Regions from separate parts of the Homo sapiens genome. Here regions 1, 2, 3 and 5 are each linked to region 4. Evidence: promoter capture Hi-C in 16 types of primary human blood cells and fetal thymus (Javierre and others, 2016). All regions are on one chromosome and are shown on one strand. Each heading gives the region's core, a stretch centred on a gene start or on the middle of the fragment in contact. The rest is flanking DNA. Distances are from core to core; before and after follow the strand shown.

Region 1 (2,700 bases), core at 60-2,559, 350 kb after region 4:
TCAAAAAAGATTACAAAACACTGAGAAGGAAATTATATATTCACAAAAATATTAATGCAGTGAGAAGATATAATAATAAAAATTATTTATGCACCTAATAACTACCAAAGTATAGGAAGCAAAAACTGACATAATTGAAGGCAGAAACAGACTGTTCTACAATAATAACTGGAGACTTTATTATGCCACTCTAAATAATGACTAGAACAACCAGATAGAAGACGAGTAAGGAAACAGCAGACTTAACATAATAATAGATATATACAGAATATTTTACCCAACAAAAACAGCACACGTTTCTCCAATGCACATGGGACATTTTAGAGGATACACTGTATGTTTTACCACAGATTAAGTTTCATTAGGCTTTAAAAGGCAAGTATCATACAAAGCATCTTCTCTAACCACAATAGGTTAAAGTTAGAAATCAATAACACCAGTACAATTTTTTTAAGTTACAAATTTGTGGAAATTAAATGATGCAGTGTTGAAAAGCTAATGATCAAAGAAGAAAACAAATGGGAAATTGTGAAATTCTTAGAGAAAACTAAAAATAAAAACAGAACATACCAAAACTTACAGAATATAGTGCACAGTGAAGGTCATGCTAAAGGGGAAATTTATAGCTACAAATGTTTACATTAAAAGAACAAGAAAGATCTTAAATCAATAACCTAACCTTACAATAAGTAATAAACTAAAGAAGAATAAACTAAACCCAAAGCCAGCAGAAGGAAGAAAATAATTAAAAATTAAATCAGAGATAAGAGAATAGAAAAGCAACAGAAAAAATCAATGAAACCAAAAGTTGATTATTTGAACAGATCAATGAAATTGACAAACTTTAAGCTAGATTGACTAAGAGAGAAAGAGATGACTCAGTTTACTAAAAGCAGAAATAACATTGGGGACATTATTCCTGATTCTACAAAAGTAAAAAAGCTTAAAAGGAAGTACTATGAACAACTTTACACCGACAAATTAGATAACCTAGATGAAATGAACAAATTTCTAGGAACATAAAACCTACCAAGACCAAGTCATGAAGAAACAGAAAATCTAAATAGACCTATAGCTATTAAGGAGATTGAGTCAGTAACCAAAAATCTCCTGACAAACAAAATCACCAGATATTATGACTTCATGGGTGAATTCTACCAAACATTTAAATAACAGATACCACTACTTCTCTAATTTTTCCAAAAAATTGAAGAAGAGAGAACACTTCCTAGTTTGTTCTATGAATTCAGCATTACCCTGATAATGAAGACAAAGACACTAAGAGAAAAGAAAACTGAAGATCAATATTTCTTATGAACAAAAGGGATAAAGTTCTCCAACGCAAAAATTCTCAACATAATACTAGCAAACCACAATTAGCAGTATATTTAAAGAATTATACACCATGACCAAGCGGGATTTATTTCTAAAATGCAGGGATAGTTCAACATAGAAAAAAATGTTCAACATAATACATCATATTAACAGAATAAAATAAAAAATGAATGATCATTTCAATTGGTGCAGAAAAAAGCAGTCGAGGAAATTCAACATATTTTCATGGCAGAAATATGCAACAAACTGAAAATAGAATAAGACTACCTCAACATAATAAAATTCAGTAAAGAAAAACCCACAGCAAACATCATACTCAATGGTGAAAGACTGAAAGCTTTTCCTCTAAGATCAGGAACAAAATAAGGATGTTCAGTTTCACCATTTCTGTTTGATATAGCACTGGAAAACCCAGCAAAAGCAATTAGGCCAGAAAAAAAATAAAAATTATCCAAATGGGAAGGGAAGAAGTAAAATTTATCTCTGTTCACAGTGGATATCATGTTACTATATGTAGATAATGCTAAGGGTTCCACAAACAATTGTTAGAGCTAATACATGAGTTCAGCAAAGGAGCAGGATACAAATCAACACACAAAAATTAATTGGATTTTTTATACACTAACAATGAACTGAAAAAGAAACCATGAAAACAATCTCATTTACAACAAGACTAAAAAGAGTAAAATACTTACGAATTAACCAAAGAGCTGAAAGACTTAAACAATAAAATTACAAAATGTTGCTATAAGAAATTAAAGAAGACATAAATAAATGTAAACACATTCCATGTCCACTGATTGGAAGACTTAATATTGTTGAGATTTTTATACCACACAAAGTGATCTTCAGTGCAATCCCTATTAAATCCCAATAATACTTTTTGCAGAAATAGAATAATCTATCTTAAAATTCATATGGAGTATCAAGGGACCTTGAATAGCTATAACAGTCTCTAAAAAGAAGAACAAAGCTGGATGACTCACCCTTCCTAATTTTAAAACTTACTGCAAAGATAGAGTAATAAAAACAGTGCGGAACTGGCATAAAGAAAAACATATAGACCAATAAAATAGAATAGAAGGTCCAGAAAAACCCTCACATATACGGTCAAATGATTTTTGAAAGGGTGCCAAGGCCATTCAATGCAGAAAGGACAGTCTTTCGACAAAGGGAGCTGGGAAATTGGATATCCACATGCAAGAGAAAAGCTGGACCCTTACCTGACACTAGCTACAAATTTAACTCAAAGTAGAAAGGTGGTTACCAGAGGCTGAAAGCGAGGGGAGGAAATAGAAAACGGGGAGATGTTGATCAAAGGGTACAAAGTTTCAGTTAGACTGGAGGAATAAGTTTTAATGATTC
Region 2 (2,730 bases), core at 120-2,619, 310 kb after region 4:
ATTGCACTCCAGCCTGGGTGACAGAGCGAGACTTTGCCTCAAAAAAAAAAAAAAAAAAAAAAAAAAAATAGGCCTAGTCACTGCTATTTTGGAGCTTACATTTCTAGTGGAGAGGGCACAAAATAAACAAGTATGAAGTAAATCAGATGCACTTGAATTGGTGAATGCTATGGAGAGGAAGAATGCCTAGGAAGCAGAATAGAGAATGTTGGGGAGGGGATAATATTTTATATTGGGTGGTGAAGGAAGGCCCTTCTGGTAAGGTGATATTTCAGCAGAGACTTTAAGGAAACGGATGAGTGAGCATGTGAGAGAGAGTCATGGAAAGATCTACAAAAAGAGCAGCCTATATAGAGAGAACTGTGCAGAACTGTGCCAAAGTCCTGAGGCAGATGCAGACATGGTGTGTTCAAGGAGCAGCAAGGAGGCCAGTGTGCCTGCAGCAGAGTGCATGTGAGAGAGGAGAGCATGGTAGGCAATGAGGATGAGTGGGAGGGAAGAAGACAGGGGCCACATGGTGTGGGGACTGTAGGCCATTGTAAGGACTTTAGCTTTTGTACTATATGGGATTCAGAGCCACTGCAGGTTTTGAATACAAGTATAATTAGAATTTTAAAAGGATTCCTCTGACTACTTTATTGAGACTGAAGGCACAATGGTGAAATGAAGGAGACCAGTTAGGAATCCATTATAATAACCCTGGAGGAGTGATGATGGTGACTTGACTAGGACTTAGTACCAAAGGTACTGAGAAGTAGTTGTTGAATTCTGGAATTATTTTAAAGGTAGAGCAGATAGGATTTTCTGATAAGTTCAATGTGGGGTGTGAAAGAAGGCAGACACCATAGTTTTTCTCCCATGCAGTTGGAAGACATGAGTATTTATTCATTGAGATGCAGAACACCAGGAAAAGAGAAAGTTGGGGAAAGGTGTGAGAGTCAGAAGTTTTGTTTCGAACATGTGAAGTTCATTTTGAAGCATTGGAAATTCTTTTTTTAGATATTTGCATGGAAATGTCAAGCAGGCACTTGAGTATGTGAGCACGGTGTCCTGAGGAAAAACTGGGTCTGGATATAGCACACATTTGAGAGTTATCAATGTACGGATGGTATTGATGGGACTGGATGAGATCTCCAAAGGAGTAAGCTTGATGTAGGGTATGTAATAGCACTGGGGATTTTCTACTGTCTACAGAGAACAATAAGCCTTTACTCCCCAGGCTGCTTCCCGAGGCTGTCTGTAACCCAGCCTGACCCTGCCTGTTCAAAAACCTATCCTCTCCTCTGTGAGCCCTAGACACCAGCTATTACTTTCATCAACTCTTCTTTGAGCCCTAGGCATAACTTGTTCATTTTTTTATTCAAATGCTACCCATCTTTCAAGGTCCAGCTCAAATTCCACCTTTATTTATCCATTCACTTCCCAAACATTTTTTTTTTGCAAATCTATGATGTAAGTGCCAAAGAGACAGCAATAACAAAGTCAATCACTTTCCAGAAAGCCTAATCTCCTGCCTAGTTGTCTTTTCCCCGATCTTCTGTAGCTAACAAACCCAGAAATTATAATTTTCACTGACTATGGAACAAGCTTCATGGTAGACACTGGAACAAGATTGGGAAAAGGAGATAGTCACAGTCTGTTAGAGAAGCAGGCAAGTAAGCAGGCAACTGAAAAAAAAAATATTTCTTGCTATGAAAGGAGAATGCACTTGCAGTATGCAAAATAATGTCATGTTGCCCAAAGATGTCCACGTGTTAATGCCCAGAACCTGTGACTAGGTTAGTTTACATGACAAAAAGGACATTCAGGCTGCAGGTGACATTAAGGTTGCTATTCAGCTGCCTTAAAATAGGGAGAGTATCCTAGGTTTTTCAGGTGGGTTCAATGTAATCACAAAGGTACTTAAGAGTGGAAAAGGGAGGCAAAAGAGAAGAGTCAAAGAAAGATACGTGATTATGGAAGGTATGTGGTTGGCTTCGAAGATGGAAGAAAGGATCCATAAAGCAAAAACTGTAGATGACCTGTAGAATCTGGAAAAGGTAAGGAATTGGACTCTTCCCTAAGGCCTCCAGAAAAGAATGCAGCCCTGTTGGCATCTTGATATAGCATCATTAGACCCATCAAACTTCTGAACTATTGAACTGTACATAATAAGTTTTATTGTGATCTCCCTTGTAGCAACATGGATGGAGCTAGAGGCCATTAAACTAAGCAAACTAATCCATGAACAGAAAAACAAATACCACATGTTCTCACTTTTAAGTGGGAGCTAAACGAGAACACATGGACACAAAGCGGAGGAAAATAGACACTGGTGAATGCTTGAGGGTGGAGGGTGGGAGTAGGGAGACAATAAAAAACAAACTACCCGTTGGGTACTATGCTTATTACCTGGGTGATAAAATGATCTGTACCCAAACCCCCAAAGACATGCAGTTTACCTATATAACAAACCTGCACATGTATCCCTGAACCTAAAATAAAACTTAAAAAAAAGAAAAAAATTGTATTGTGTTAAACCACTAAGATTTACAGCAGCAATAAAAACTAATACTATTGCCAATACTAAAAACTAATACTAATGTTATATAATACATATAGCACTCTATGGTTATTTAACTTTTTCAGAGGTGTGTGTTACATCCCCAGTATTGGCCAATTTTCAAAGATTCAGGACAATGAAAACACCTTTAAAAATTCCCTCTGTCAATAATCATATTAGGGTTCTTT
Region 3 (2,700 bases), core at 90-2,589, 400 kb after region 4:
CACCAAATCAGTGTCATTGTTTTCCCGAATTTACACTTGAGAAAGATTACCTTAGATTTTTAGGTTCAGCAGCCAGGACAAAACTTGACAAATATTTGGTGGGCCCAGGTTTTTTATATGAAGTCTTTTCCAGCCTGTGATCAGCTTCCACAGTTTTACAAGAGAGAGCTTTAGGCTCTGAAGTCAGACGCCCTGGGTTGGAATTCTGGCTCCATCACTTATGAACTGTGTGATCTTGGACAAGTGACTCAACCTTCCTGTTGCTATTTTCCCTTTCTGTAAAACAGGGAAAATGTATAGACATTAAGCTACTATTCTCACTTATGGAAGACCTCAAGATATCTAAAGTATGCCCATTTACACCAATCCTAGAGCTTCTGAATAACTAAAATTCCTTTACCATAATGAAACACATTTTCTCAAGGAGGACTATTACTGTTGTGAGGATTAAATAAAATAAATGCAATGTAAAGCAGCCAGAAGGACTGACCATGTAGTAAGTGATCAATAAATGTTATTGTTATTTTTTAAAATCAAGTACAGAGCATTAGGTTTTTTTTTTAATCAAGTATTAGAGCATTAGGGGTTTGAACAGTAAGTTGGCTCACTATTCATATTGTAGAAATATACTTCCATGTTGCATTTCTTTAAATAGTGAGCTCCTGCCAGAGCCAGTCTCAAAAAATGAGAAGCTGCTGTACTTGTCTGAGTTAGAAAACTTAACAGTTCAACATTGATTGGAAATCAAGCATATGCTGAAATTTTTATGTTAGTTAGAAAATATAATTTAATTTACAAAGCTTTGGTTTGTATGACATTGGGGAAAGTCCATGGCATGTTAAACTGAAGCTGTTGACGGAAGTGAAAACCATATTAATCAAGTAATGCAAGGTTAGACCGTTCTGATACCTGCATTTCTTTAACAAGTGAATTCTGACCTAGTCGTACTACAAAAGTCCAAACAGATTTTTATGGCATTCACTTTACATTACAGGTTAAATGTTTTATTATGTTCCATATTTAAAATAGAACCTATGCCATCTCACTGTGACAGATATTTGAGAATAATTGGAGTTGGATTGGTCAAGACTATGGTGCTGATAGATGGCCTCAAGAAAAGTAACTTGAGACAGCTGCCCTCCCTATGATGGCAGCCACTATCACCACTAGTGATAGCTTCAAAAGCATGGGCATAGAAAACATGAACAAAAAGATTAAAGGAAAAACATGGAGGTGGACATTACTCAGCATTTGGCCATGGGACTGACAAGAGTATAAAATCTTTTATATGAACCTATTATATTCTGATAAGGTTAAGTGGTGCCTGTTCTCTCTGACGTGTAAATGTTAGAGTTGGATAATTTCCTGATATAAGGTCAAGATAAGGGAATAAAAGACTGAATTAGTAAAAGGAAGTTCAGAATGGGTTCAGAATGGCATTTAAAACATTTACCTGACATTCTCCACAGTTGGAGATTGCAGGAGGGCAAATTAGGTGTTTTCCTCTCAATTAATGTCAGTACCCTGTTATATTAGGAGAGAGAGCCAAGACCTTGATAACCCATCTCCCCCAACCCTCTTGGTTCTAGAATATATTAATATTTTGAGAAATGCTCAATTATGCCTGTTTACACAGAGGTAGCAGTTTTGATGGCAATGATTATTTCATTATGGACTTAATCTTGATGAAAATAATCCATGCAAGACTTAACTGTTTGGTTAAATACATTGCTGGACATATTTAATCAGAGAGAGCTTTCTGATTTTGTACTTCTTTCTCTTCCTTTCCTACCTCCCACTGCACCACTCTTAAAAAGGCTATTAATAGAATTTTTTAATGTTTTAGTTTTTGTTGTTGTTATTTCTGTTAAAGCTTAAGGGTGGAATAAGTCAATTTGAGAGTAAAATCTGAATTCCATCTGTTTCTGTAGTTCTAGGACCTGGTATATAATAGATGCTTGATAAATATTTAATAGTAGTCCTTCTTGAGAAATGGTGTTTCATTATGGTAAAGGAAGTTTTAGTTATTCAGAAGCTCTAGGATTGGCGTAAATGGGCATACTTTAGATATCTTGAGGTCTTCCATAAGTGAGAATGGTAGCTTATTGTCTATACATTTTTCCATTTTTTATTCACTGTGTTCCTACTGAGTGCTAGACGTAAGGAGAATTAATATTGAACAAGCCAGATTTCCTACCCCCCAAAGATTTTACAGTTAAACGGGAGAAGATAACAAGTGAATAATTACAGTACAGAGTTGCTGTCAGAAAATATTGGAGGGGGAACTAACCCAGGTTCAGGGGAATCCAGGAAAGATAAGTGGAAATTAGGTAATGAAAATATGCCACATTATAAAAGGGCCTGTAAGCTATAGTAAGGAGCTTGAACTTTATACTGATCAGTATGAATTACTAAGTCAAGTACCTTAAAGTTGCAGATTCTCATCTCTTCTAGGTAGCTAGCTTTCTAGGTAACTTTCCGTGCACTGGATTTGCCCAGTGATAATGTTTGCTTATGATAATAATAACTTTCTGTTTCACCTTTGATTTCTATCAAAAAGTTTTGCATAAATACTCTTATCTGCCAACCACAGGAACCTAGCAGGTGACCTTTGGGTTTAAAGAATATGTTTAATCATAGTGATCCCTGTAATAGATAAATTAAATCTCTTTTACAAGCCTTCTGCAAGAACTTCTGCTT
Region 4 (2,700 bases), core at 201-2,700:
TTATTCCCTAAATCAAGCTTGGCATGCTTTTAGTTTTTAAAGTAAATCTGTAGTTTGACTTGAATACCCTCATCCATCATTAGGTAACTTTTAAAAGCTGATGTTATTTCAGGGTGGAATTCTCTTCTACTTCTCTTATCCTCTCATACCCTTAGTTTTTTGTAGTAATAGCCTCATCCCTATAATCAAATCCAGAGACGGGGAGAAGGTAGAGCTGGGAATTCATTTTTCTCCCTACAAATCTTAATTATTCCTCAAAATATTTGTGAAGTAGGAAAGCATGTTTTCAGCACCCATTCCTCACTATCATCCTCTTACCCAATTGTCTGATTAGTTCCTCCTTTTATCTTTTGTTACTGTCTCATCTGGGCATTTAGCCTCCTCATTTTACTCTTCAGTCACTTAGGACCCTGAACTATGAACTCACATCCCTGTTAATCTGGGAAGATGTCTATCCTTTGAATCTTTTCAACTTCCTTTTCTCACATCAAAATATAGTGATGCTGGGTTCCATTTATTCAAGGTCATTCTTTTTCTTCTGCTAGGAAACAGCTAGATTATCTTGCAACCTAGTCTGCTGTAATGGATTAATGAAAGGCAATGTGCTAGTTCCTTATCTCCTGAAAAACACCTGAAAAATTTTAGAAGGATATTTTATAAGACCGCTTTTAAAATGAAGTAGTGCAAAATAGCAGAAAGAGTAAAAGAATTTAGAATTTGAAATTAGAGTGACATGGGATCCATGACTCCTATTCATTTCCTAAGAAATCTTCTACAAATTACTTAACCTCTCTGAACCTTCTATCCTGCCTTTACTGTAAAAAATGGATACTAACACTTACCTTCAACTTTTGTTGTGCTGTAAAATGAAAAATTGTAAAAGTACTCAAGATATTGGCTGCTGTACAGTAGGTGTCTTACACATTGTAGCTAATAAGTAAACAATATTGTAAGCCAAATAAGTGACTCAAAATCAATTACTGGTCAATGCTAATAATCTTAATGAACAAATATTTCTTAAACACTTTGTGTAGGAAGAAAAAAATACAAGTGGTACCTATGAAATAATATTCTACTTTACCTAGGCACGATGCCAGTTCTTCTCCAGCTATTCATCAAACAACCAACTATTCCTTCATTTATTGATTAACTTATTCATGTACCTATTAAGTGCAGAAGGCTGGACTGGGTAATATGAAGAATACAAAGATGTATACATAATCCTGTATTGACTTACTGTTGAATGTGACAGAATATTCAGGTATTTTGGATAGGTTAGAAAGATATCTTGATCCTGTCTTCAGTTATTAGCCTAATAAGAATGGAAACAGCTTGCAAAAGTAAGACGCAAGTAGGGTAGCAGCAGGCTCATCTGGGGAATTACTGGTCTGAAGTTTGGGCACAAATTATTGGAGCCAAAGAAGAGAGAAATCTATATCCTTTAGGAAAGTTGAAGTAAAGATCATTTTCAGAGATACAGATAGAATAGATTATGACTCAAGCTTCAGTGGCAAGGTGTGTATACAGTCACAATATATAGAAAACAGACTAGTAGTCAAGGGCACCAGGGGACAGGGCAGGCAAGGTGCAGGGTGGATGAAGTGAGGAGGGTCAAGAAGTAATTCAGATCTGTCTGAATTATAGCAGGGCAGACCCTAGCTCATTTTGCCAGGGTGGGTTTTAGTCACTTACGGAAGCCACACCATTCTGGATGAGGGAATTGGGGAGAAGAGCATGATGAAAAAAGGGTGCAAGGAAAATACTGGAGAATGTTACCATACGAATGTGTGCACAAGATGAAAGAAAAATTAAACTGGCCAACAAAAGTTCAAGGAATGCTCTAATTTAAATATTAGATATTCTAGCATAAAATTTGCAATTCAAGAGAAGCTGGTTCTCCTAAATTTACATCTTTATAAGGTAGACAGACAGGAATTTATATTTTGTCTTTGGCACTTATCAATCGTGTACCATTAGACAAATTATTTAGCCTCCCCACAACTTAGTTATCCCATCTGTAAAATGGGGTGAAGACTAGTACTTGCTTATAGGATGGTGGTGGGCACTACCTGAAATGCTGTGTGTATATGGCTCAGCACAGTGCTAGGTACATAGTAGGTAGGCAATGAGTATAAATTATTTTCGGTTTGGATTCTATGTCTATGCAGAGGTCTCCTCAAGCTTTTGCAACTTGTCATATAATTGGTGTCTATTTTTATGTCTTTTAGATGGTCAAAAAAATAGACCCTCTCACCAAAGTCAAAAAGAGGTCAGATTGAGCCTGAATAATAGTAGCACACTTATGAGTCATTTAATTTCTTTGACATCTCCTTTTCTCATCTAGTTGTGAATTATTTATGACATCTGTGCTCTTGGGAAGAAGTCCAAGCATATAACATATCTCCAGCTCACTCCTGGAGGGTCTTTCCAAGGCCCAGGGTTTCTGCCACTTAGTATGTGCTTACTCAATATTGTCTTGATTAATGGCATTGGAAGTAGAGATAATAGCAGTGCAGAATTAATGGGCTAGATACTTTGTTATTGAACACAATTGTGTAGGGTTGAACTAACAAATAGGTAATGCTTCTGCAAAGTGTGTAAGTAAAAAATATAAAATAAGTAAATAGATTATATATTCATCAGTCTATTTAGAAAAACTTACTGAGTAGCTACTATGTGTCAGACACTGTTCTATGCACT
Region 5 (2,700 bases), core at 46-2,545, 380 kb after region 4:
CAGATTGGGCCATGTTGTTCATGTACGATCTTCATGTCAGATGAAGAAGTTAGATCTTTAGCTCAACGGTTATATGGAACTATTGAGAGTTTAAAAATGATATTTATAGCCTTTATAATTTTTCAAAGCAAGTGTGCCCACTGTGAAATATTTGGAAACCAAGGAAGACACAAAGCTAAAAGACTATCTGTAACTCTCTCTTTGTTAATATTTGGAATATATCTTTCAGTCTTCATACCACACACATAAATTTTCCCCCAAAACAATATTTACTGTATTTTATATAATAATTATAGAGTATTTTAATGTTTCGGTTTTGTCATTTATTATAGTACATGTCTATTATAAATAAATAACAAAATAGAAGCAAAAACACTAAAAGCAAAACTAAAATTATAAAAATTCTAGGCTCTTACTATTATTTTTATTGTATATGTGTATGTGTATATATGCATCCTTTTGAAAAAATATAGATCCCGTTAAAAAATAGAATAATAATTTACCTACTGTTTAAGACCCTATACTCTTCTCTTAATATATCAGGAAAATCTCGATATGTTGACATGTGCATTTTTATAGCAAAATTTAATACCTGCATCCTATACAAAATAATTTATACGATCTCATATTTTTAAATTGCCTTTATGTCTTTGTTGAAAATCAGTTAATTATGTAAGTATAGGTCTATTGCTGGGCTATTTCATTGACCTATTTGTCTATCTTGATTGAATATCATAATTTTGATCAATGTAACTTTATACCAAGATGTGAAGACAGGAAGTAAAAGTTAGATAACTTAGTTCTTCTTTTTAAAAGTTGTTTTGGCTATTCTATGCCCTTTGCATTTCCACATGAATTTTAGAGTTAGCTGTCAACATCTACAGATGAGCCTGCTGAGATTTTAATTGGGATTTCATTATATCTGTAGATCAAATAGGGAGAATTGATATTTTAGTCATGTTTATCCAAACACATGCCATTTATCTCTATTTACTTAGACTTTAATTTCTCTCATTATGTTTGCTAGTTTGCAATATACAGGCCATGTTCATTTTTTTCATATTTATCCCTAATATGCATATTTAATGGCATGTTTTTATGCCAGTATAAATGGTATTATGTTAATTTTAATTATGTATGTATGTATGTACCTAGTATATAGAAACAGACTTGATTTTTTATATTGATCTTGCATCTCCCAACTTTGTTAAACTCACTTATTAGATGTAATACATATATATAAATTCCATAGGGTTTTCTAGGTAGATGATCGTTTCATCTGTGGATAAAGAAAATTTTATTTTCTTATGTCCAATCTGGATATCTCTTATTTCTTTTTCTTGACTGGCTGGACTGGCTAAAGCCTCCAGGACAATGTTGAATAGAAGGGAGAGAGTAGACATCCTTGCCTGTTTCCTCATATTAGGGGAAAACATTTCATCTTTCATCATTAATAAGACGCTAACAGTACAGTTTCGTAGATGCCCTTGATCAGGTTGGGGTTGTTCCTTTTATTCCTATTTTGCTGACTGTTTTTATTGGGATTAGATTTTGGGCATTTGTCAAATGCTTTTTCGTCATCTCTTTTTTTTTTTTCCCCAGTCTGTCAACATGGTGAATTACATTGATTGTTTTTCAAATGTTAAATTAACCTTGCATCCCTGAGATAAACCCGACTTGGTCATGATGTATTATCCTTTTAATAAATTGTTTATTATTTTATTTGTTATAATTTGGTAAGAATTGTTGTCTCTCCGTTCGTGAGGAATAACGTTCTGTAGTTTTCTTATAATATCTTTTTCTGGCTTTAATGTAATAATGCTGGCCTCGTGGAATGAGTTGGGAAGACTTCAATTTTCTGGAAGAGTTTGGGTTGCAAGGCTATTATTTCGTCCTTAAATGTTTCATAGAATTCACCAGTGAAGACATCTGAAAATGGAATTTTCGTGGAAAGTTTTAAAGCTCTAAATTTAATTTCATTCATTGATATAGTGCTCTTCAGGTTATCTATTTCTTCATGAATGAGCTTAGTAGAATAGTTTGTATCTTTTAAGGAACTTGAAATTCTTTTTTCTTAAGGTGGAAGCTGATGTCATTGACTTGAGACTTCTTCTTTTTTAATTTAGATATTTAGAGCAAAAATTTCCTTATGATTACTGCCTTAGTCGTAAACAATAGATTTTCATATGTCTTTTTTATTTTCATTCAGTTTTTAAAAATCTTAATTTTTTGTTTATTTCTTTTTTGACTCATGGGTTATTTAGCAGTGTGTAATTTTCTTTCTAAATATTTGAGTTTTGTCCAGATTACTTTACTGATTTCTAATTTAATTCTATTGTGGTCAGATAATATACTTTGAATGTCTTTTGTCAGGCTTCTTGATTGGAAATGGAAATTTAATCACGTATTTTTGGACTTGCAGTTTCTAATTTTTATGCTACTAAAAACAATTCTTAGATGAAGATGAACTTGGGTTCTTTTTACCCTTTCTTTTTTATTTTCTTAAAAGTCTCAGAAACAAAAGTTTTGAATCAAAGAGTATATAGTTCCTTCTCTAGAATTTATATATACTGTTACATGCCTTGTTTCATGTTTATATTCAATAATTTGCAAATATTTTCTTCAGATCAATATTTTTTCTATAACATATTCTTAACGACTGTATATAATTTTACTTTATTGATACCCCAAATTATATTA

What was found. Contacts are between HindIII fragments. The CHiCAGO score rates a contact against its expected background, and 5 or more counts as called.
Region 1: a fragment that was not itself captured here is called in contact with the fragment with the promoter of NREP-AS1 in region 4 in 4 of 17 cell types (M0 macrophages, erythroblasts, M1 macrophages and 1 more); the score reaches 7.4 in M0 macrophages.
Region 2: a fragment that was not itself captured here is called in contact with the fragment with the promoter of NREP-AS1 in region 4 in 3 of 17 cell types (M1 macrophages, erythroblasts and M2 macrophages); the score reaches 6.6 in M1 macrophages.
Region 3: a fragment that was not itself captured here is called in contact with the fragment with the promoter of NREP-AS1 in region 4 in 1 of 17 cell types (monocytes); the score reaches 5.4 in monocytes.
Region 5: a contact is called between a fragment that was not itself captured here and the fragment with the promoter of NREP-AS1 in region 4, in 2 of 17 cell types (M1 macrophages and M2 macrophages). The highest score is 6.8, in M1 macrophages.

The regions. Positions count from the first base shown.
Region 1 is chr5:111,556,325-111,559,024 of GRCh38, reverse strand. All of the region lies in intron 1 of STARD4-AS1 (STARD4 antisense RNA 1), which reads right to left. Among named protein-coding and RNA genes, the nearest start is that of STARD4, 45 kb to the right of the region's middle. The HindIII fragment of the contact is 730 bases long and covers 945-1,674 here.
Region 2 is chr5:111,599,725-111,602,454 of GRCh38, reverse strand. The region is part of intron 1 of STARD4-AS1 (STARD4 antisense RNA 1); the gene reads right to left. Among named protein-coding and RNA genes, the nearest start is that of STARD4, 89 kb to the right of the region's middle. The HindIII fragment of the contact is 441 bases long and covers 1,149-1,589 here.
Region 3 is chr5:111,509,152-111,511,851 of GRCh38, reverse strand. All of the region lies in intron 1 of STARD4 (StAR related lipid transfer domain containing 4), which reads left to right. Among named protein-coding and RNA genes, the nearest start is that of STARD4-AS1, 1.7 kb to the left of the region's middle. RefSeq lists an enhancer at 2,549-2,668. The HindIII fragment of the contact is 1,073 bases long and covers 803-1,875 here.
Region 4 is chr5:111,911,258-111,913,957 of GRCh38, reverse strand. NREP-AS1 (NREP antisense RNA 1) reads right to left here and starts at 1,450. Exons shown (of 4, transcript NR_046678.1): 1 at 1,238-1,450. It also overlaps a transcript of NREP not described here. The HindIII fragment of the contact is 1,485 bases long and covers 20-1,504 here.
Region 5 is chr5:111,527,640-111,530,339 of GRCh38, reverse strand. All of the region lies in intron 1 of STARD4-AS1 (STARD4 antisense RNA 1), which reads right to left. Among named protein-coding and RNA genes, the nearest start is that of STARD4, 16 kb to the right of the region's middle. RefSeq lists an enhancer at 1-296. The HindIII fragment of the contact is 5,472 bases long and covers 1-2,700 here.